Linked DNA regions of Homo sapiens: all the other regions are linked to region 3. The links are contacts of gene promoters, found by promoter capture Hi-C in blood cells and fetal thymus (Javierre and others, 2016). All regions are on one chromosome and are shown on one strand. The core of a region is centred on a gene start or on the middle of the fragment in contact, and the rest is flanking DNA. Distances in the headings are between cores, read along the strand shown. Region 1 overlaps PEX3 (peroxisomal biogenesis factor 3). Region 2 has its middle 16 kb from the start of FUCA2. Region 3 holds the start of VTA1 (vesicle trafficking 1). Region 4 has its middle 28 kb from the start of SF3B5. Region 5 has its middle 4.1 kb from the start of PLAGL1. Region 6 overlaps FUCA2 (alpha-L-fucosidase 2). Region 7 holds the start of LTV1 (LTV1 ribosome biogenesis factor).

The links. Contacts are between HindIII fragments. The CHiCAGO score rates a contact against its expected background, and 5 or more counts as called.
Region 1: a contact is called between a fragment that was not itself captured here and the fragment with the promoter of VTA1 in region 3, in 1 of 17 cell types (monocytes). The highest score is 6.7, in monocytes.
Region 2: a contact is called between a fragment that was not itself captured here and the fragment with the promoter of VTA1 in region 3, in 5 of 17 cell types (non-activated CD4 T cells, fetal thymus, total CD4 T cells and 2 more). The highest score is 6.4, in non-activated CD4 T cells.
Region 4: a fragment that was not itself captured here is called in contact with the fragment with the promoter of VTA1 in region 3 in 3 of 17 cell types (non-activated CD4 T cells, total B cells and monocytes); the score reaches 8.5 in non-activated CD4 T cells.
Region 5: a fragment that was not itself captured here is called in contact with the fragment with the promoter of VTA1 in region 3 in 1 of 17 cell types (fetal thymus); the score reaches 6.4 in fetal thymus.
Region 6: a contact is called between a fragment that was not itself captured here and the fragment with the promoter of VTA1 in region 3, in 3 of 17 cell types (fetal thymus, activated CD4 T cells and naive CD4 T cells). The highest score is 6.8, in fetal thymus.
Region 7: the fragment with the promoter of LTV1 here is called in contact with the fragment with the promoter of VTA1 in region 3 in 1 of 17 cell types (total B cells); the score reaches 5.4 in total B cells.

Annotation. Positions count from the first base shown.
Region 1 is chr6:143,486,713-143,490,194 of GRCh38, reverse strand. It overlaps PEX3 (peroxisomal biogenesis factor 3), which reads right to left. Exons shown (of 12, transcript NM_003630.3): 12 at 1-1,052. The coding sequence ends at 969. Among named protein-coding and RNA genes, the nearest start is that of FUCA2, 23 kb to the left of the region's middle. The HindIII fragment of the contact is 1,433 bases long and covers 1,003-2,435 here.
Region 2 is chr6:143,526,475-143,529,631 of GRCh38, reverse strand. No RefSeq gene overlaps it. Among named protein-coding and RNA genes, the nearest start is that of FUCA2, 16 kb to the right of the region's middle. The HindIII fragment of the contact is 5,428 bases long and covers 1-3,157 here.
Region 3 is chr6:142,145,916-142,149,166 of GRCh38, reverse strand. VTA1 (vesicle trafficking 1) reads right to left here and starts at 1,904. Exons shown (of 8, transcript NM_016485.5): 1 at 1,768-1,904. The coding sequence starts at 1,879. NMBR (neuromedin B receptor) reads left to right here and starts at 2,045. Exons shown (of 4, transcript NM_002511.4): 1 at 2,045-2,123. RefSeq lists enhancers at 1,203-1,723, 1,978-2,117, 1,881-2,175. The HindIII fragment of the contact is 1,973 bases long and covers 503-2,475 here.
Region 4 is chr6:144,066,330-144,069,599 of GRCh38, reverse strand. No RefSeq gene overlaps it. Among named protein-coding and RNA genes, the nearest start is that of SF3B5, 28 kb to the left of the region's middle. RefSeq lists an enhancer at 2,350-2,649. The HindIII fragment of the contact is 3,826 bases long and covers 1-3,231 here.
Region 5 is chr6:144,010,606-144,014,013 of GRCh38, reverse strand. It overlaps a transcript of PLAGL1 not described here. Among named protein-coding and RNA genes, the nearest start is that of PLAGL1, 4.1 kb to the right of the region's middle. The HindIII fragment of the contact is 1,038 bases long and covers 1,235-2,272 here.
Region 6 is chr6:143,505,787-143,509,262 of GRCh38, reverse strand. It overlaps FUCA2 (alpha-L-fucosidase 2), which reads left to right. Exons shown (of 7, transcript NM_032020.5): 2 at 1,839-2,026. LOC124901417 (a long non-coding RNA gene) reads right to left here. Exons shown (of 2, transcript XR_007059798.1): 2 at 1,933-3,293. Among named protein-coding and RNA genes, the nearest start is that of FUCA2, 4.2 kb to the left of the region's middle. The HindIII fragment of the contact is 4,251 bases long and covers 1-3,469 here.
Region 7 is chr6:143,841,944-143,845,376 of GRCh38, reverse strand. LTV1 (LTV1 ribosome biogenesis factor) reads right to left here and starts at 2,039. Exons shown (of 11, transcript NM_032860.5): 1 at 1,897-2,039; 2 at 760-891. The coding sequence starts at 1,899. RefSeq lists enhancers at 1,536-1,605, 1,796-2,005, 2,186-2,235. The HindIII fragment of the contact is 13,446 bases long and covers 1-3,433 here.

The sequences.
Region 1 (3,482 bases), core at 470-2,969, 1.3 Mb before region 3:
TTTTTCAGAAAGTAAAGCTATTTGCTTTTTACTAAATGAACAAGTTAACAACAACAAAAAAGCACCAAGTACACGACCAATTAAAATGAAACTTAAACTAGCATGCTCTCTCTTCCGAAATAATAACAAAAATGCTATGGGATAAGTAAATTAATAGCTGAAAAATATTAACTCAACAAAATAATATTTTACTAAAATAGTTTATTGCAATAAGATTTTCACTGTATTCAAAATCAATACAAAGTAAGTTTTTAAAATTATGTACAAATGATTAAAACTATGTAATTAGGTGAGTAAACAGCATCAACACAATTTTAGCCTCTAAACCAATATGTAACTTTCTAAGGCTTTTTAATAAAACCTTAAAAAATATAGTGAAGAAATAGCAAAGAACATAGTTCATCATAGTTGTTGGAATTCACTATTTCCATAAGAATAAAAAAGTCCTCCATCAAGGTATATTTGAGACAAATAATTTATTATTTTGAAAGGTAGCTGGAGAAAAGTCTGATTCACTTCTGTTTACAGCAGTCTAGGGAACATTATAATTAAATAGCATATTTTTCCAAACTTCACACATCCTAGACCTATGTCTCCAACAGATTTTTCCTCAGTATTAATATGGTAAAGTACACTGAATTTTGTATTTTTATATATATATATGTATATAAAATATCTATATTGATTTTTAGTCAGTTTGGAACAAATGTCCATGTGTAACAAATTATTAACAATTCTGATATTTGCACGTGTATATATATATGCCCACAAAAACTGGTCTGTTGATGAATCTAAAAAAATATATTAAGATGCCAAATAAATTGATTTCATTATGAAATGAAGACTTTTATTAAGAATATATTTTATCAGGCATTTTGATAACAAACTGTTACTCTAAGTATAGGTGATTTACCCAGTGTATTTTAAAAAGTAAATGAATCCCACTGTAGTTTTTCTTGAAGGAAAAATCATTTCTCCAGTTGCTGAGGGGTACTAAAAGCTTCATACACATTAGCAGCAAAGTCTTTCACTTGCTCCATTGTCAACAGATCCTAGCAAAGATGATAATATAACATTATAGTTTGCAAAACATATAGCTAATTTGAATTAATTTCTGCAATCAAGCGATGAATTCAGCTCTAAGTTTTGTGGTAAAGGCCAAGAGGCAAACCATTTAAGAAAATGAGTAGTTTTTCTTGTAATAAATTCTAGGAGATAGTTATTATTTAGGTTCTTATATGAGGGATGATGGTATCATAAGCGTTCAAGTGTGACTTTGAGGGACAAAAACCCCAAATAGTCTTCAAATGAATTTTGGTGTATGTCAAGTGCTAGATAGGTATCTGTTGAATAAATAATTGTAGGAGTAAAGGTACTTTTGCTGGAAGCTGACATAACACGGTTAAGGGTGTATTACTTTCTAGAAGATCTAACATACGGTATGAATATGTGTAGTAAGTGCATATTTTACATATACACACATACATGAACCACACATATACACTATAGTGTAAGGGTTATTAACACCCCAAGGGATTTGCGAATGTGAAGATAAGAAAAAAATTACACCTTCATTTTCTTTAACTTCTAACCAAAATCTGGTATCTCTTTCAATTATGAATGTAGGCAACAAACTGTGATAATATTAGCAGGTTGTATGACTTTGTCTTCAATAGAAATCATAGGCATTTTCATGTCATATGACAGTTGTGGAAGTTATCAGAACTCTCATTATATCTTGGTATTTAATGCATGAATAAAGAAGCAATACCGCTATATCATACACTTAATTTTAAAAGAAATTTTGAAAACTATATATGATTGGTTTCCTTTATAATATTATGTATTTTATTGTATGCACTTATAAATATTGTTCTGAGAAGGGGTCCATAGGCTTCACCAGTCTGTGAAAGGGTCCATGATAGAAAAGGTTGACAGCCTCTGAGAGTGTCAAAGAAATGGGAAGTAAACCTGTCCCTAGTGATCTCTGTTTCTTAAGTATCGGAAAATCCAAGTGAGGTTTAGACATGTCCTAATCTCAATCAATTCATGGTTAAATTATCTCATCAGAGAATTTGATGTTATTTAGTTTCAAGTATTCAGTCTAGGTGTTCAATGAAACATAGGTTTAGATCAATGTTTCTCAAACCAGAATTTACAGACATACTTTCAGGGGCCCAAGAATTTGAGGGGAAATTTTGTGTTTTGATTTCTATGAAAATGTAAAGAAAACTCAAACACGCTCTTGATTATTGAGAAGATAAAATATATAACCTACTATTGTTCCTGATTTTAGGGCATTTGTTTATATTTATGTTCTTATTGGCTTTAAGTAACATTACTTTAACTGTCTTGTGCTAATGAGAGAAGAACAGAGGCAGAAAATCTTTCAAATGAAGACCAAATCATGTAAAACACATGATACAAATGAAGCTTTCAGAATAGTTACAGTAGATAAAAAAAAAAATACTAGCAAGTCAGCTTCAGAAAATGCAGGCTGAATGCTCAACAGCATGAACAGTAGCAGACAGGTCCACATTCACTTTGGCACAACAAATTATTAATAGTAGACGTCAGCCATATTATAGAACAATCTTTTTTTGTAATTTAGATTCTACTTGACAATAAAAGTGCTTTGGTTTTGAGTTACGAAAAAGCTCTAATCTTAAGGATCTTATTGAGTTTTTAATTTATACACTAAAAATGATTTAAACACTGGAGGACTGTGGTATATGTGTGTACATATGTATGTGAGGTGTATGGACAAATCTGAGAAATACTACCATTGTAGTGCAAAAGCAGCCATAAACAACACATAAACCAATGGGCATGCTGTCACCCAATAAAACTTACAAAAGCTGGTGCTTGGCTGGATTTGGCTCATAGGTCATAGCTAACTTATATCAGCTTTATAATAAAGACTTTAATCTGTTCAAATACTGTATCCTGATGCAGCTTCTAGGATGTTTCAGTAGTCTGAGATAAAAATTATGTATCATAGGGTTGGTTCACACTATAAAAGCTCTTTCCTTATGTTATCTGAAAGCAATCTGAAATAATTTATCTCCTGCTTATGTTATTTGAAAGCTATTTGAAAATAATTTGAAAAACCACCTTTCTCGATTGTTTTCTGATTCTCCCATTTCCTACCTTTACCAACTACCATCCTAATATCTTCTACCAAAGGGGTCAGCAAAGTATGGCCTGCAGGCCAAATCCACTGCCGCCTGTTTTTGTATATAAAGTTTTGTTGAAACAGCCATACTCTTTTGTTCATGTACGTTTCTGACTGCTTTCACACTGCCAGAGCAGAGTTGAATAGTTTCTGTAGAGAATGTATGTTGCATTAAGCCTAAAGTATGTACTATCTGGCCCTGTACAGTTTGCCAAACCCCTGTTCTACAGCATTCCCACCATAGGCTCTCCTACACACCATTGTAGTTGAAGTAGTAGCAGTAATTCGAAAGGACTAATTTTATGTA
Region 2 (3,157 bases), core at 354-2,853, 1.4 Mb before region 3:
ATTTAGCTATTTTCATTGAATACCATTTCCAAAAGGTTAGGGATAAAAACTGAAGATGAAATAAGCATAGTTTTAATCATATAAGAGTGTTTAATACCAAAAATAAAATTAAAAAAAATAACAGAAACAAAAAAACTGTACCTCACTGCTTTACCACTCTCTTTAAAGTGATGACTTATGTAAGATTATAAAAGAAATAAATGAAAATTTATCAACTAGCTTGTTCCGCCCATCAGTGCTAGGAACACTGCCTTCAGCAGGAGCCCAAATGTGGGCTGGGATCTGTCTCATCTCTGGCCAGTGTCTTCCTCCTCCTTGCTGTGCCAGGAGCCCCTCTTAAAGCCACAGTGCCACTTGGAGGGCTCTTTATACATTGCAGATTCACTTACAGAAGGAGGAATTGTTATTCAAAGGCTTTAATACATAATGAAAGCTATCCACATTTCATAAATTAGACAAGCTAGGGAGCTAAACGACCTTTGTAACTGAATTTGTCCCTATTTCATCACTAGTAGTCTTTAGATGCATGAATGTGGATTTTTCATGGTAATGGAAACAGGTGTGACACTCTGGTTAAAATCAAAACTTCCTGAAGGCATTCCTTGAGACAATACCCATCCCCTTCTAACTAATTATTTTTATAATTGCAGTTTTCTTTTGCTATCTTCCCCATCCCCCAAATATATTAAAAAGTTTTATTTCTCAGAGTTTATATGCAAAACATGCACATAAAAATATGGTATGTTTTCTTATGAAATATTTTCCCAAAATACTTGGCATTAGAACTAAGTGTCTTTCACTGACAATAGCATTTCCTTAATATAGGCAGATAAAAATGACTGCAAGTAAGAGAAAGATCAAAATATTATCTGAAAAGAAACGGCAGAGATCAAAATTGACGATACACGATGAAAATGAAATAAGAGAAAGGCAAGGAATCCAGGTAATCAGCAGAGTGAGGATAAATCACCATCTGATAGTGAAAGTAGGCCTGCTTTTAAAGTCACTTAAAAAAAAGAGAGAGAAACAAAAAACAGGAAGTTAGTTTTGATGGTCTCTAAGGCCTCTTCTGGTGTGGAATGTGATGGTTCTGTGAAATTTTTTCTTTGTTTTCATTTTAAAATCGAAGATGAATTCATTTTATGAGAGAGGCCAAAGCTGGCTCATAGTTTTGAGCCCATCCCACCATTTCCCTCTAGAGTACCAGGCTGCAAAAGTAAACACCTCCTTTACCATGCTCTCTTCCTCCCACTCTTCCTTTCTTCTTCTTACTCTAAAACAAACTCATAGAAGTGGAGTGTAGGATGGTGGTTATCAGAGACTGGGGTGCGATGGGGTGGATGGAGAAAGAGGAGATGTTACTCAACAGGTCCAGGGTTTCAGTCAGTCAGACGGGAGGAGGAATAGGTCTGGTGCTGTATCGCAACAGCATGGTGACTATACATATTTTGGAATATATACATTTTGTGGAATAATGAAAAGAGAGCATTTTAGGTGTTCTCACAACAAAGAAATGATAAATATTTGGGCCAGATGCAGTGGCTCACGCCCGTAATCCTAGTTTTGGGAGGTTGAGACAGGCAGATTGCTTAAGCCCACGAGTTCAAGACCAGCCTGGGCAATATGGCAAAACCCCATCACTACAAAAAAACTACAAAAATTAGCCAGGTGTGGTGATGTGCACCTGTACTCCCAGAGACTCTGGTGTCTGAGGTGGGAGGATCACCTGAGCCCAGGGAGGTTGAGGCTGCAGTAAGCCATGATTGAGCCACTATACTCCAGCCTGGGCAACACAGTGAGACCCCATCTCAAAAAAAGATAAATATTTGCAGTAATAGATAGGCTAATTGTCTTGATTTGATCATTCCACAATCTATACATGCCTTGAAACTTCATGTATGCTATAAATATATGCAATTATTACTTGTCAATTAAAAATACAATAAAACATAAATAAATTAAAACAGCTACTATGTCCTAACAGGCTCAGGCTCTGTGCTGGGCACACAGAAGTGAATAGGAATCTCTCTAATCTTGGACTAGCAGCATAGGAGACAGGGGTGTACAAACTACAGTGGAGAGATAAAGGAGGGAATAATTGACCCTTTTGGGGTGAGTCAGGAAAAGTTTCAGGACACAAGAAGTGGCTTATACAAGTGAGTAGGGATAAAAAAGAGGAAGAGGCAGGGAAGGCATCCCAGGCAGGGAAAATACCATGCATGCGGGCCCAAGGCAGGAAAATGGAAGCGAAGAGGAGGGAGGTGAGTATGGCTGGAGGCTTGGAGGAGAGCGGGGACGTGCTGGAATGTGAAACAGAGGCCTGTAAAAAGATTTAGGCACAGAAGAAATGTGATCAGCATCACTGTCTTTTGCTTCAATTTTGATACCTCAATTTGATCCCTAAGTAATGCATACGTTTAATTTGTGGTGGTGTTTTCAGGATTGAAATTCGTGTATATAAAGCACTGGGTGTAATGAATGGCATGTAGTAGGAGCACTGCTCTAAGACATTCAGGATACACATTCTATTTCTTTGTTTCTATAAATCACACCTAGCTCAGCTCCTTCTACAAACATTGCCTAAAAGACATTTTCCAGGATGCCTTCCTTGTCTTGAACCAAACAAGAACTTTTGGGCTTATGAGTGTAGGAAGACAGGAGGGGACTATCTTGAGTGTTAGCCTCAGCAATTGCTGCTTCTGTGACTCTAACTCTCTCATTGAAGGCAAGTGATTCACTAGGGACTCCTTCCATCCCTGCTACACTCAGCCATGGGTTTTTTTTTCTTTTATACCTTTATTTTTAATTGACACACAATAATTGTGCATATTCGTGGGGTACATAGCGATGTTTCAATACATATAATGTATATGATCACATCAGGGTAATTAGCATATCCCTTATCCCAAACATTTATCATTTCTTTGTGTTGGGAACATTCAATATCCTCCTTCTAGCCATTTGAAACTATATAATATGTTATTGTTAACTATAGTCATCCTATAATGGTATAGGACACTAGAACTTATTTCTTCTGTCTAGCTATAATTTTGTACCCTTTAACAAATCTGTTCCTATTCCTTCCTTCCCTCTACTCTTCCCAGCCTCTAGTATCTTCTGCTCTACTTTTCACTTCTGTGAGATAAACTTTTTTTAG
Region 3 (3,251 bases), core at 655-3,154:
AACTATTTCAAACTTACCTATAAGGCTGGAAAAGCAGAGCTGCAACTTTAGGGAATGATATGGTGAGAGTTTATGTTATATTTTTAAATAAAGGAAACTGGATTAGGTTTAGAAAAATCTAGAGGGAAAGGACGACAGTGAGTAAGGTGTCCCTGGTTTGTCACAAAGATACATGATACAGGGATCGGGAACAGGAATTTCCTTTAGGGATGAGAGATTCTTTGACCTTATCCCATCACTCCCAAGCCCCATCCACTCCAGTCACAATAGTCTACTTACTCCTCCTTCCAGCAAGCCTCTACTTCGGGACTTTTATAACCTCTATGGAGAATACTCTTTCCCAGATGGTGCAAGGTATGCCTTTCACTCTTTTATTTCCCCAAATGTCAATTCAGTGAAGTGTTCCTGACCACTATGAAACTGAAATCCCATCTGCACTCCCTGCCACCACTACTCCTGATACTCTTATTCCTTTTCCTTGCTCTATTTGTCTTCATAAGCTTTTAATACTCTATGTATGATAGACTCTATATTGTTGAAACTCTCTACCTCCATTGTATGTAAGCTCCAAAAATGCAGCAAATGTAGTCACAGCGCCTACTAATGCTTGATACAAAGGTAGCTCAATGAACACATACTGAATGAATATGGACCCTGCTTGAGGAAACTGAAGAACAAGTATAATAAAAATGATGCTGTAAAATTTGAACAAAATGAAGTAATGCACAGAGAATAATCAATTTGCTGCCCACAGAAGTGGTGACATTTGGGTTAGATCTTGAATCATGAGTTTGCCAAGTGCAAGAAAAAGGTGCACATTCCAAGAGAGTGGAAGATGGTAGGTCTGAAAAGGCCTTGCACATTTGAGAAACAGGGTACATTTGGAGTATGGCAGAGATAACAGTGACCAGATTTTAGCTAACCTTACAATATACACAACAATGGACGCATTATATCCAACTTCTCAACTCTAAATATCCTTTTCAGAATTATAATTGTCCAGTTACTTGTTTTATTTGCAGTAAAGTTAAGAGTACAGAATACAAAATAAAGTTAACACAGAATTACTGGCACTCCCTTTACTCACTACAAGTTTGAGCAGAGTTAACCTATATTTTTTTTAATCAAACTGTAAATTCAACGTATAACACTCAAAGTGAAAATACTGCTTTCAAAGGTCTCAACAGCGGGTATTATTCAAAGAAGTCAAAACTAAAAATTCTGCATGGTAGGAGAGAGCAGCTGGGTGGGGAAAGGTCAAATTCAACTGCTTATTTAGTAGCAGATACTCCCCATTTAACCAAATGAGTTTCTGATTGGGCTTGCATGCTGTCATAAATAATATTCACTTATTACTATGTTTTCAACTAGTCTATCGTCCTTTTATCCACATCACTCCTTCTTTCGGACACTCACCTTCGTTTTAAACCTAACTCAATTTATTTTCAGGATTCCTATTTGAGACAAGAAGCTCTTGTGTGTACACACACAGAGAAAACCTTGGAAGATTATATTCCACAGTTCAAGAGCCTGTGTAGTCAGTACTGGAGCATTTAAGCACAAGATAGGAGAAGCAGTGGACACCATGGTGTTTTGGGATTCCTACTGCCAGGGGGTGGGAACCCAGGGAGTTCCCTGGGTAGGCTCGAGGTCAAAGCTCAGGTTTAAAGCGAGGGGGGCGGGGCATGCCCCAAGAACCTCAGGGAGGTGTGTGGGCCCTAAAATGCAACTGGGAAAGAAAGGGCGCGGCCACTCGGAAAGACTCACAGTAATAAGCCACCACAGGGTCTCGCTTGTCATGCTCCTGAGCCGTCCTCAGATGATGCTGTATGCTCTTGAACTGTGCGGGGAGCGGGGGCAGCGGTGCAAGCGCGGCCATCTCTACTCCGAACTCACCACTTCCTACTCGCGCTCCACCGGCACTTCCGCTTCCGTCTGGGCGGTAGCGCGCACGAGCGTTCAGAGCAAATGCTGCCCACTCTTCCGTTGCTCAGCGACGTCAAGTCAACTACGGATCCCCAGCTGGGACAACCTCAGGGTGCTTGGCTCTCGGCGGTTAGAACCCACAGAAGACCCGAGCATTTTGGCGCTTATGCCGCGCATGGCGCTAGCGCTCTCTGCTGGTAGGAGGAAGGGTTTTTGTTTTGTTTTGCTTTTTTGTTTGGTTTGTTGTTTGTGGCAAAAGGAAGGATAGAAAAGGAAAAACAAGAAAATAATGTATGTTGACTGGGAGAAAGTATAAAGGCGAGAATTGCCTTTGGCGTCATTCAGGAATTACCACTTCCAGTTAATATGCCACATTAATATTCCATATAGCAGTGTCCTTTAGAAGCCTTTTTGATTTTAGAAACTTTAATTTCAATACTTGCATGAGAGAGAAATAATGTGTTTAAATTGTAAATTAAATTTTTCTATGTTGACATACTGGATAAAATAATCAGATTTCGCGCCAAATTAAGCTAAACATATGAAGCTTAAAGAAGATTGAACTTTTGTTCTCAGCTGGCTAGTACGTATTTTAGTGAATGAATAATCTGTAGATCACCTTTTTTTTTTCTGGAGAGTGATTAACAATTTGTAAAGTATTTTCATATTTATTATCTTGTCTTAATGTAAGATAGGGTGTTTGGGACGTTTTCAACGCTGGTAACTCTTAACCATTGTACAGTAGGCATCACTTTTCCTTCTACCCTCAATGACTTCAATTCTCTTCCTCTCCTCTCCATCCCTTACTTATATCTTTCAGGACTGTACACTTTATTTACTTCCTCCAATAACCTTCTTTATTTTATCTCAGTCCTCAGTTTTGACAATTCATCTTAAAACTAGTTTTCACTGAAATCACACTATCCCCAAGAGCCAAAATCTCCAGCTCGGAAATTCCCCTCTGCCTACTATTTTCTGATCACTCTCTCACCCCCAGAAGAAACCGCTCCATGTCCTCATATTATCCCACTCCACATACGTTGCCTAGACCTATTTGCAAAGTCCATCATCTTATTCTGGGTCGGGCTTTTTTACTCAGCCTGAAACTCAGTTCTGTCTTCTTCCCCAATCTCAGCGGCATATTTCCTACCACTGGAGAATGTATGGTTTCTTTCTCTTTCTCTTACTCCCACTATTTGGACTTTCCAGTCAAAAGTTGCTAGATTGGTAGAGAAATCAATGAAGAAAAGCAGAGTTGGATAACCATAACTGTTTTCTTTCTATACTCACAACTTTTCATTTATTTGTTTCCTATTACTTCTTGA
Region 4 (3,270 bases), core at 69-2,568, 1.9 Mb before region 3:
ACGTGGAGCTGTGAGTCCATTAAACTTCTTTTTCTTTCTTTGTTTTTTTTTTGAGACAGAGTCTCGCTCAGTCGCCCAGGCTGGAGTGCAATGGCACAATCTTGGCTCACTGCAACCTCCATCTCCTGAGTTCAAGCAATTCTCCTACCTCAGCCTCCCGAGTGGCTGGGATTACAGGCACCTGCCACCACACCCAATTAATTTTTGTACTTTTAGTAGAGACGGGGTTTCACCATGTTGGCCAGGCTGGTCTTGAACCCCTGGCCTCAGGTGATCTGACGGCCTTGGCCTCGCAAAGTGCTGGGATTACAGGCTTGAGCCACCGCACCTGGCCTAAACCTCTTTTTCTTTAGAAATTACCCAGTCTTGGGTATTTCTTCATAGCAGTATGAAAATGGACTAACACAAGAGATGATGAAAAAGATGCTAAAAAGCTGTATGTGCTCTTCTGAAATTATATTCAGAGTAGATCCAATCAACATACTCTTTTGATGTCCCAGTAGCACGTAACAATTTGAGAAAGTAACAAAACAAGTGAATGAGGGGAGATTTCTGACTGGAAATGGAGAGAAGTCAAGGAAATGAAGAGTCATGCTTATGGCGGTAAGGAAATAAGTGCACACACGTACACACAAAACCACAGCAACAAAAACTGACCTATAGTGAGTGGAGAGGTAAGGGAAGTCAGAATGGAGGTAATGAACTAAGAAAGTAGGAAGAGGTTCTAGGGATTAAAGGTCACAAAGACATTTTTTAAAATAGGAAGCAAGACAAGGTGGGCAGAATAAGAGGCTGTGGCAACAAAAGGGAATTCTATATCCTTGGAGTAATTTATTCATTAAGGTGGTCCCTTACATTGGTAACTAATGAGTTCCTGGAAATGTGTTTAAAGGCAAAAAACAAAACAAAAAAAAAAATAGAAAAAGAAAAAAACAACAAAACCTGTAGATGTTAGAAATATTTCTCATTACTAGAAAAAAATTTTGATTAGAAAATTTCTCATGATGGTCTCTGTAGGTCCTGGCTCCCTCAGGCTTGAGCGGCCAGGGCTGCCAGTGAGAGTTCTAGCCTGTCAGCCCTCACTCTGGAACCCAAGGCAGGGAGATGGCTGCTGGGGTCAGGCCACCCATGTCCCAGGCACCTGGGTCGATTAAACCCAACTACCAACATCATGCCGTTGTTTAGTTGGAACAGGGTAGGGGGTGAGGATCTTCATCTTCTGTACCTACAGAGGATTTGATTGTATTATTTCACCAAAGAATTGAGGCTGTGTCTGCTGGAACTAACCCCATTCCCCAACCCAGGAGAGCAGGTTCTAGGCACTGGGACATGACCCCTGAGCCTCCTTCATGAGTGCCGTCTGTGTGGAGGCAGAGGTCCAAGAACATGGTTCTTTGGCATGGGGTGGTGGGCGCTGGGACCACAAGCCCCCGGCGTCTGTGCTTCTTTTGATGAGTGGCTAACAGCAACACCCATCACTCAATGGTTGGTGTCATCTCTTAGATCATGACCCAAAATGGAATTTGGTGTATGAAAGGTAGTTGCAGGTTATGGGGCAGGGGGTGCGGTGTGTATTAATAAACAGTGCACAGCTGTACTGATGGTATATAACCAAAGATCTTGTACTTGAAAGTTAAGGACTGCTGGATGCGCTAGTGACATCTGCAAATGAGGGATGTTGTGACTAGGTATACAACTAAGGAAGGCTGTACTCTCAGTCTGGGATTGGGGAATGACTGCTTTAATCTTCAAGCTCAAGGGCCTCACATCTTCTGTAGGTCTTTTAAGAAAGCACCCACAGACCAAACGTGGTGGCTCATGACTGTAATCCAAGCACTTTAGGTGGCCGAGGTGGGCAGATCACCTGAGGTTAGGTGTTCAAGACCAGCCTGGCCAACATGGTGAAACCCCGTCTCTACTAAAAATACAAAAATTAGCTGGGCATGGTGGCATGTGCCTGTAATCCCAGCTACTCAGGAGGCTGAGGCAGGAGAATCGCTTGAACCCGAGAGACAGAGGTTGCAGTGAGCTGAGATTGCGCCACCAAACTCCAGCCTGAGTGATGGAGCAAGACTCCGTCTCACAAAAAAAAAAAAAAAAAAAATTGTTGGGTGTGGTGTCAGGTGCCTGTAATCCCAGCTACTCAGGAGGCTGAGGCAGGAGAATCACTTGAACCTGGGAGGTGGAGGTTGCAGTGAGTCGAGATGGCGCCATCGCACTCCAGCCTGGGTAACAAGAGTGAAACTCTTACTCAAAAAAAGAAAAAGAAGAAGAAAAAAAGTAATGTGAGTCCCTCCTCCCTCCTCGCTCTCACTTTCTGTTCTCCAGCCTGCCATTTCTAGATCAGTTGGTCTAAACCTGTTCTGCTGTGAAGTGCCCAATAGCATGGGCAAAAGAACATGGGCTCTGGTGTCAGCTTGCCTGAATAAGCACTAGAATGGTAGCTGTTATTCCTTTCATTAGAGCGATTTCCTTCCCTCCTCTAAACTTTGGAAAAACCATCTATTCCTTGAAAGTTGTATGTATCCTCCCTCTCTCACTTCCTTTATTGAATTTGTTTTTGAAAGTCTTTGAAAGTTCAATTCCTGCATGAAAGTTCACTACCTGCCTGAAGGAGAAGTAGTGAACTTGCCTTCTTTATCTAAATGTGCAATCTCCCATCTGCCTACCCCATCCGAGCCACAGCTGGACTCACATGTTGTGGGGTGGGAGTGTGCATGGGTGCAAGGTTTATTTTCTGTCTTAACAAAATATTGTTGCTTTTACAGTAATACAATAACAAACTATTTCACAATTTAGTTAGAAAATTTAATGCACTTTTGTAGTTTTATTCATGTTTCTGACAGATATAAAATCTTTCTCTCTGAAGAGGCAACGGAAAGGATGTGTCTCATTCTCCTTCTCCTTATTCCTATGATCCTTTTATTCTTCTCTGTCCTTTCCTGCTTCCACTCTCCTTTTGCTCCCCCTAAAAATTTGATTTGTCCCTTTTATTACCCAAGAGGGAGAACAAAAGTAGAGGGGGGAAAATCTCTTCACGATACTGGCATTTTATAAGAACTACATATTGAAAGGCTGTGACTTAAGAGGCACTACCAACGACCCAAAAGAATTTCACTAATTCTTTTATGAATTCATTCATTCATGCAACGAATGTCCTATTATGTGCCTGGCACTGTAGCAGGCACTCTCCCTTCCTCACCCTAAATAACTAAGTTGTGGATCTAAGCTTTCTGTTTAGTTCTCCTGCAATAGAAACTTAAAATAACG
Region 5 (3,408 bases), core at 504-3,003, 1.9 Mb before region 3:
ATCAGCTTGTCAATTTCTATAGCAAAGCTGACATGGATTTTGCCCATGTCAACTTTGACATGAGGACTGACTGATGACCCTCGAAAATATTTGTGTCCTAATCTCTGGAATCTCAGAATGTAACCTGAGTTGAATAAAAGGGTCTTTGCAGATGTGACTTAAGTTACGGATCTTGAAATGAGGAGACCACCTTCAGTTATTTCAGTGAGTCCTAAGTACAGTGACATCTACCCCTATAAGAGAGATACACACAGGAGAAAGCACATGGCACGCACAGAGAAGGCGTTGTGAAGATGGAGGCAGAGATTGGCATGCTGTGGCCGCAAGCCAAGGAAGCCGAGGAAGCCAGGGAATGGCAGTGGTCACCAAAAGCTGGAAGTTGTGAGGAAGGAATCTCCACTAGAGCCACTAGATGGCGCCTGCGGCCTTTGCTGATATCTTGATTTCAGACTTCTGGCCTTTCGGACTCAGAAAATAAATTTCATGTTTTATGCCACCAGTTTGTGGTAATTTGTTATGGCAGCTATAGGATAAAATATAGCCACTATCTGGCTAAGGAAGTTCCATTCCATTCCTAGTTGTCATTTTTTTCAGGATGGGGTGTAGTTGTCAAATGCTCTTTTTGCATCAATTGAAAATAACATTTTCCCCCTCCATTATTTTGTTAATGTGGGCATAATCTGTATGATTGTCTGCCCATGTGGTATTAATTTTAGCCCCATCATAGCTGTTACCCCTGGTAACACCTGTTCCTGAAAGTGTTGGGTCCTGACACATTGTATCAACCTATAGATGTGTCAGCATGAATTTTCTTGTTCTGCATTTGCTGAAGAAATGTTAAGAAGTCATTCAATAGTCTGCAGAATAAAATGGAATCTCCAAATACTTAGAGAAAAAGTGTGATTATGGAATTTGTCCTGAGGGGTTCTGTCTACTACAGTGACCACGCTGGCAACCCTTGGGTCCAGTTTGACCTGGAGAAATACTTCATGTGGCCTCTGCAGTGTTTCCAAAATTAGAAGATTTTATATTAAAATGTTAGATAGCATACTTCCCTTGAAAATTATGCAGATGTGGCAACCCTGCCCTGAGTTCAAACATGGCAGCCATTGGCCTGAGCTGAGCATCTGCCCCTTACACAAAGAATGTCCTTTTCACTTTACCACAGTCCCATTGTTCCTCACTGTTTTAAACTTTGTAGAGATTTGAGTTTGCAACCCCTGCTCCAGAAGCTTTGCTAGGGCATGCTGTAATGCCAAAGCATGCGTCATTGAGGGAAAGCTCAGGAGAAAAAGAGTGTGTCACAGCTACCAGGTCAACATAGTCATGTTCAAAGAGACCACTGTGGAAATAACCTAAAGATAAAAAAGGATTTCATATAGTTCATTACCAGTGAGAAAGAAAGACTGCTTGACTGACTTCTGGATAAAGATGGCACAAGGAAGCACTAAAAAAATCAAAATTAAAATACTAAATCATCCAGGCATGGTGGCTCACGTCTGTAATCCCAGCACTTTGGGAGACTGAGACAGGCGGATCACCTGAGGTCAGGAGTTTGAGACCAGCCTGGCTAACATGGCGAACTTCCCCCCAACCCAGCACCCCCATACCAGCCTCTACTAAAAATACAAAAATTAGCCGGTTGTGATGGTGCACGCCTATAATCCCAGCTACTCAGGAGGCTGAGACAGGAGAATTGCTTGAACCCGGGAGGCAGGTTGCGGTGAGCCAAGATCATGCCACTGTACTCCAGCTTGGGTGACAGAGCGAGACTCTGTCTCAAAAACAAAACAAAACACTAAATCACCCAAAGGAAAGAAAGCAACAAAAAACTTACATGCTGCAACCAAAGAAGAAAAAAGTACAACCTTATAATGTAAAATTTGAGAATTGATAGCAAAAACAAAGAGAACAGAAGATTCTATGGAGGCGTGCTTTGTCTCCAGATGAACCTATGTCTGCCCAGCCCTCCACCCACCGCTGCAAGACATGTTGAGGAAAAAGATGATCAGACCAAATCCTAAGAATTCTCACAAACGTCCCCCAATGTGGAAAGGCAGGGCACACCTGTGAGATGTTGAGGAACCTTTGCATACCACTGTTGGATCTTGCCAGAGGCAGGAAAGTTTCCCACTTTCTGGGATACTGTGCTGAACTGAGCAAATGAACTGAAACTCTGAGGCATGGGATGTTCCCTTGGCTAGCTTGAAGTCCAGCTGCCAGAGGACTTAAAGGAATCTCAGATGTGAAGGTTGAGTTCCTCCAGCAAGCTTTATACTCTGTCTGAGCTGAATTCCACACATCCCCTTTTCCCCCACCTCTCCTTGTCCGAAAAACCTTGGATCACAGAACAAGTAGATAGAAACAACATTCAGCCCTGAAAAAGCAGCGTATTCAGATATATAATATACATGGGACATTAGAAAAGAACATAATCTATAAATTGGAAGATCATACTGTATGCTGGGGGGAAAAATTGATCTAGAATAACTGACACAGAGGCATAGCCCAGATAAGAATACTAAAGGGTATATTAATGTTAAAGAATTCTTCAGGTATCCAAGCAGAAAAATCAAGCCACCTCCAAGGGGAAAATTACATGGGATTAAGATCTTTCCACAGAAATCTTTGAAGCATTTCTCTAATGACCAGTAATGATGAGCTTTTTTCATATGTTTGTTGGCCACATAAATGTCTTCTTTTGAGAAGTGTCTGTTCATATCCTTTGCCCACTTTTTGATGGAGTTGTTTTTTTCTTATAAATTTGTTTAAGTGCTTTGTAGATTCTGGATATTAGCCCTTTGTCAGATGGATAATTGCAAAAATTTTCTCCCATTCTGTAGGTTGCCTGTTCAGTCTGATGATAGTTTCTTTTGGTGTGCAGAAGCTCTTTAGTTTAATTAGATCCCAATTGTCAATTTTGGCTTTTGTTGCCATTGCTTTTGGTGTTTTAGTTATGAACTCTGCCCATGCCTATGTCCTGAATGGTATTGCCTAGGTTTTCTTCTAGGCTTTTTATGGTTTTAGGTCTGATGTTTTAAGTCTTTAGTCCATCTTGAGTTAATTTTTGTATAAGGTGTAACGAAGCGGTCCAGTTTCAGTTTTCTGCATATGGCTAACCAGTTTTTCCCAACACCATTTATTAACTAGGGAATCTTTTACCTATTGCTTGTTTTTGTCAGGTTTGTCACAGATCAGATGGTTGTAGATGTGTGGTGTTATTTCTGAGGACTCTGTTCTGTTCCATTGGTCCATATATCTGTTTTGGTACCAGTACCATGCAGTTTTGGTTACTGTAGCCTTGTAGTGTAGTTTGAAGTCAGGTAGTGTAATGCCTCCAGCTTTGTTCTTTTTGCTTAGGATTGTCTTGGCTATACGGGCTCTTTTTTGGTTCCATATGAAATTTAA
Region 6 (3,476 bases), core at 95-2,594, 1.4 Mb before region 3:
ACAGTATAGATGAGTATATGTGACTGTTTTAAATGTCTATTAAAAACCAAATATAAATGATAGACCTTTACCATAAATGCCTCTTTTCATCTCTCAGCATGAAATTCAAGTCTAGACTGTAGGGGACAGTGCAGGTTCAAATTAGATGATGCTAGGAGAAATTCCTTATTCTTGTTCAACTTTCTGAATGTCCCAGTTTCTCTTTTGCAGTTCAATTTAAAATGTAATGCCCGTAGTCCCAGATACTCAGGAGGGTGAGGTGGGACGATCGCTTGAGCCCAGGAGTTCAAGGCTGTGGTGTGGTATGATCATGACACTGCACTCCAAACTGGGTAATGGAGCAAGACCCTGTCTCAACCAATCAATTAATCAATAATAAATAAATAAATAATAAAAATGCTTCAAGGATTTTAAACCCAACTAAAAGGTATAATGATAGGGGCTTGTTATCTCACATAACAGGAAATTTAGAGTAGTCGGTTCATTGATGAAATCAAAGACACGGGCTCTTTCTTTCATCCTCAGCCTGGGGACTTGTCCCTTCATGGTCACAGGATGGCAGCCAGGCACCATAACTTCACACAACCCTGCCCAAAGGCAGGAAGGCCAGTGTCTCTTTTCATTAGGAGGGAAACCATTTCCACAGTCCCCAAAGTTGGCTTTCCCTCAAGTTCCCTTGGCCAGCATGGATCTCACATCCCTGTCGCAGCTGTAGTGGAAGCTGGGAAATTACGTAAATACGACTTTTGGGCAGGCAAACAGCATGCCTGCCGCATAGTATGCCCTTCAATTATTTCTTCTTAGCAGAGTCTCCTGATCGTCTTGGGAAATATAGTGCTGATTATGGATTTGCTTATCCTGTAGAAATACTCATATGAAAGGAATGGTGATAGAAAAAGCAGGAGGTGGGTCAAAAATGGGGGTTGCATCTATTTCATGAGGATAGTTACTGCTGTGTTTATCTAAAATGTGTAGATGTGCTTTTCCTCATGAAGTCTTGCTTACGCAGTTTAGGGTCAATATACCATTGCTTAGAATGAATGCGTATAGCAAGTAATTGTTGAAGGTTGAGTCCATTTATTAAAATAACAGCATCTTTTTAATTTTACTTTTGCCTCCCTTTCTGTCCTGTGCCTCCAAAGTGTTCTCTACTACTGAATATAATAGATGCATATTATGTTTTAGGCATGTAGTCTTCCTTTTAGAAGCCCTAATCACTTATGTTACAAGGGACAATGTGTAAAGACATATACTACATGTTGTGATTTAAAAGTGAAGAATTAAAAGAGAATGGGGCTGGACACGGTGACTCATGCCTGTAATCCTAACACTTCGGGAGACTGAAGCAGGAAGATCGCTTGAGCCCAGGAGTTTAAGACCAGCCTGGGCAACATATGGAAACCACATCTCTACAAAGAAAAAAAAAATAGCCAGGTGTGGTGGCACGTGCCTGTGGTCCTAGCTACTCAGGAGGCTAAGGCGAGAGGATTGCTTGAGCACAGGAGGTCAAGGTTGCAGTGAACCATGATTCCATTACTGCATTCCAACCTGAGTGACAGAGTGAGACCCTGTCTTAAAAAAAAGAGAGAATGGGTAGCTGAGTTGCCTAGAATGCTCTAGTTTATGAGCTGAGTGGATATCACAGGGGGATAGGTGGAAAATGAGAGGGGGTTTAGTTTGCATAAGCTATCTTTAAAGCCAAGTCAAACTAATGGGGAAGTGAGAAAGAGAATCTGGGTCCTATCTGTGTGAGGGGTAAATGGTAAGGGGAGCTGGAGCAGTTCTTTTAAATATGTGTGTATGTGCTGTTTATGCACTCTTTCCTTTCCTCCCCTTAGGTGGTATTGGCAAAAGGAAAAGATACCGAAGTATGTGGAATTTATGAAAGATAATTACCCTCCTAGTTTCAAATATGAAGATTTTGGACCACTATTTACAGCAAAATTTTTTAATGCCAACCAGTGGGCAGATATTTTTCAGGCCTCTGGTGCCAAATACATTGTCTTAACTTCCAAACATCATGAAGGTAAGTCAATCCAGCCTATGGAAATTGCTGACAATGGTTAAGAAATGAAAAGTTGTTCTTTTGGAAGAAAAAACTAAAGCAAGGTCTAATTTTCTCTTCGGAGCAACCATAAGTGGTGACTGGCACTTGCTTATGACTTAGGGACTGCACATTCAACCCAAATTGAGAGATGTTAGGAATACAGAAAGGATCATACCCGCCACGTAACAGAGGAAAGATGGTCACGTTTTGTCACATGTATTTTGAACAATATTTCCAAGATTTACTTAAAGCTGTTTGTTGAAGGGAGTGTGGGTTGCAAGTCAAAGTTCATCTTGGAATTGCACTCTTTCCTTCCCCTTCTCTGTAATGCATCCTGTGAATGCATCATGGGGATTATACTGCTATAGTCTTGCATCATTACGACACACCTGGCTGCACTTTTAGCCAACTCTTAGCTGGCCAAATGGTGCAAATAGTGGATGAACTGATAGTGATGAAAGTGATGAAAGTGACCCAGATCACCTGGAGGGAAAAGGATTGTGGAACTGTAATGGTTTCCAGAAAAATCAGAGGTGGTAGAAGAATATCTAAACCCCCACACATTTAAAATCCATTCTATTTTAATAGAATGGATTCCACCCATTACCACTCCAGTATTTGTAAGGCCAGGGAAGCATTAACAAATTGTTTTTGTTCCAACGGCTTGTTCATTCATTAGTTTCTTTTGCATGATCATCTTTGCCTTGGTATAAAAAAATTTGCACTGGATGTGGTCGCTCATGTCTGTAATCCCAAAATTTTGGGAGGCCGAGGAAGGAGGATCATTTGAGCCCAGGGGTTCAAGACCAGCCTGGGCAACATAGTGAGACCCTGTCTCTACAAAAACAAACAAACAAACAAAAACTAAAAAATTAGCGTAGTGGTATGTCTCTGTAGTCCCAGCTACTTGGGAGGCTTAGGTTGGAGGACTGCTTGAGGCTGCAGTGAGCGGAGATAGGCTTACTACACTCCAGTCTAGGTGGCGGAGGGAGATCCTGTCTCAAAAAAAAAAAAAAAAAAAAACGGGAAACTTTGCCTTATTGTTTTCTCCAGGGATGGGATGGGAATAGGAGAGGAGAACCAACACAAAAAATCTGGAATGATCATAGGATATTTTTCCCTTTGGCCACATTCTGGTAGCTTCATGATTTTCTCCTGTAGATATTTATCCTGCTGAGATGAATGTCTATCAAGTGTATTTGCTTGAGAACATGCTGATTTCCTGATGTCTAGGAACTTTCCCAAGCTGTATGGCACAAAACATTACATAGTGAGTTTATTTAATAAAAATTGTTAATCAAACTGTGAGGAGAGATGATGTAGCCCACATGTATACATTTTCTGGGACCCATGTTGTCAGATGTTTTCATTGCTCATGGAAAATGCATACTAAGCTCAGGAAGGAACGTCGCAGTGTAAGCTTATGGTG
Region 7 (3,433 bases), core at 790-3,289, 1.7 Mb before region 3:
TTCTTGTATTTATATGCAAAAAAACCCTTCTCAACATACAACAAAACTGGCTTTACTGAAAAGCTAAACGTGGCCCATGTCCCCCAGTACTCTGTTTCCCAACACTCTGTTTCATAATATCTACACTTAATAAGTGTTGTGTAACATTAAGAGTCTTAATAAGTAGAGTCTAACATTAAGTCAATCTTTACCAGGCTCCCTTGCAAAGTTCCCTGAGCTAACCAAGGAGCTCAGATATTTTACATTTCCTAAGATGAGCAAGCAGGAGGCAAAATGCAGTTTGCGGTTATGAAACGGCAGGATCTTAGAGAAAGCACAGTTTGAGCATATATCGGTGCCCTAAATAACATCATGCCGCATTGTAGCTGGTGCTTTGGTAAATATTTACCATTATTCTACAAGATTTGCTCGTTTAAACATCTCAAATAAAGATCTTTGTCTTCCCAATCAAAATAATGTGAATGATGTAAAAATCACCAATTGTACTGAAAATTAACTTATAGATTATTTCCCAGAATATCAGTTATCTGAGAATAACAGCTGGCTAACAATTTATTAAAAACTATTAACATAGCAAGGCGTGGTGGCTCATGCCTGTAATCCCAGCACTTTTGGAGGCCAAGCTGGGAGGACTGCTTAAGTCCAGGAGTTCGAGACCAGCCTGGGCAACGTGCTAAGACTCTATTTATTTAAAAAAAAAAAAAGAAAAAAAAAACTATTGTCTACCTACAAACTGACTGGCTAAAGAACAGGACCTACTTTTTGTGTGGGCAATAGAACCCTCTGGGGTGCACTCTCATCTGCTGCTAAAGGATCTCGTTGGCTCCGGTGGACCAAGTGAAAAGACACAGCTTTCTTCTTCTCTATAAAGGGCTTTTTCTTCCTGTGAGGCTTCAAAGGAACAAAATCACAACAATTAATTAAAACAGAACAAAAAGACGGAGAATAATTCCATAGTCCACACATGCATCTTTAGTAGTCATGTTAAAGATACTTTTTAAAAATCTACACTTCTAGGGCAGGCAACATCAGCTGTGTTCTGCAGAATCCATACTTAACCTTCCTTCAACAAACATTCCTTGAGCACCTACTTTGTGCCAGACCTTGTTATGGGAACTGAGAATACAGAAGTGGGAAAGTCAGATAAAGTCCCTGTTCTTAGCAAGAAAATCAAGATAATTTCCGGTGAAGAAAATATAAGACAGTGACGTGAAAATGCCTTAAAAGCTACTTTACACTGGCTGCTCAGGGAAGGCCCCTGGCCGACTGAACTAGAATGACAAGAAGCCTGCCACAACATAATCTGGAGTAGACAGCTCCACACAGAGCATCTACCAACCAGTAAATAAAATCACGACACAAACAGCTAAAGTTTAATAAGATCCATCACCTCTTTCTACATTCTTACTTCGCTATTCAATTTTGATTCTCTAAACTGGGAAACCAATTAAGTGGCTTTACTTTGGGCCCAACCTTATGCTCTCCCACAAGTTCCCTTTCTCAGAGGAAACAGACAGGCAGACACCTGCCACTCCAACGCTGAGGGAGACCAGCAGCTCCCTCTGCTCGACCCCAAGAAGCACAGGGTTGCGCGTTTGTGTCGGCAGTCACCAGCTTTTAGTTAACCGAAATCACGCAGGGCTGCAGGCTCCCAGGGATAAAACAAAAAGGCCATTCTCCTCTCCGGGCCACATCCCAGGGAGGCTCGGCGGTGGGAGACTGTAACTTGCAAAGAATGCCCACGGTGGTGACGTTGGCCCATTTCGGGGTACCGTGCCGCAAGCAGCCTCTGGCATGACCCAGACCCGGGCCGCAGTAGCCAAGGTATTACCGGAAGCAGCCTGGCCTCTGCAAAACCACAGCGCTCGGCCGCCGAAACAAGCAAGGCTTGCTCACCATGCTGCAGCCGCGCGGCGCTCACCCCCAACAGGGGCGGCGATGACACCCTCGAAGTCCGGCGGGGAGACCAAGGTCCAGCTGAAGGCCGCTTCTGTAGGCCTCACCACACGTGCAGCCCCAGGACCCGGCGATAACGTCACCCAGCCGGCCGTGGAAACGGACCAATCGCCGAGGAGCTGATGGGTCGCGACCGGAAGTTACATAGGCTCGCTGCGTCTCCACGATCGCGAGAAGCCACCGGGAGGTGGGGCTAGCTCGGCTCCCACCCCTGGGCGGGCTGTACTTTTCCGGCCTTTAGTCTCCCGCCGGGCAAAGGGAATCGTGGGGGTCCTTAACGTTGAGGCGCCACAGAGGGGTTTCTGCTTGTGGACGAACCTTTTATAGCTCCCTCTACGGAGACCAGAGGGGACGAATCTAGCATCCCCCTTGACTTGTGTCCCTTACCTATTCCCAACCATAAAAAACAAAGCCGCGGACACGGAAGGGAGGCGACCACCCCGCTGGGGTGCTGGGGTCGCCAAGTTTCAGGTTCCCTCTCCGGGTGGGGGCGGAGTCGGTTGCCGTAGCAACGGAGGCTGGGGCCTTGCCTTTATAGACTGCATCAGACTTGATCAGGTTATATTTTCCACTGTTTCATGAACTGCTTTCATCTGCCCTGTTAACCAAACCCCCGAGACTCTGTTAACTGTAGAGGCATTTGAACTAATAAAATATATTCAGAATCTCTGGTGTTTGAATGTTAACTTTCTCCCCCTGTTTAAACAAATAGGCTATAAGCACGCATTCTTAGGAAGATTTCAGGCCGGCGTTGGCGTACTCACATAGCTTTTCTTGGACGAAAGTGTGTGGTAAATGCAGTCACTTTCATCAGCAGACCTTTTTTTCAAATTTGTTTCCCCAACTTCCCAGTTTCTGGTGACCTCTCAATGAATGGCTTACCCTGGATTGTGTCTTTATGCCGTAGGCATTATCACTGTAAGTATTTGTGGAGTATTATTCTTTTATTACAGTAAAAATTATAGAAATAGGCCAGGCGCGGTGGCTCATGTCTGTCATCCCAGCACTTTGGGAGGCCGAAGCGGGTGGATCACCTGAGGTCAGGAGTTCAAGACCAGACTAGCCAACGTGGTGAAACCCCGTCTCTACTAAAAATACAAAACTTAGCCAGGTGTGATGGCAGGTGCCTGTAATCCCAACTACTTGGGAGGTTGAGGCAGGAGAATAGCTTGAACCCGGGAGGCAGAGGTTGCAGTGAGCTGAGATCATGCCATTGCACTCCAGCCTGGGCGACAAGAGCGAAACTCTGTCTCAAAAATATATATATATAGAAATAATTTAGGTTAGGACCATAAAACTTGTCTTAGGATATTGCTTTGTAACAGAGATAATACATAGCACTCCTATGTGCCAGAGATTCGTTGTTATTATTCATTATATAGAATTAAAAGATCCAAGGGGGCAGTTTTCATTTCCTTTCAATCAGTTGTACTTACTGCTGTATCATCAGGGGCCTGATGCATGGGGCATATATGCT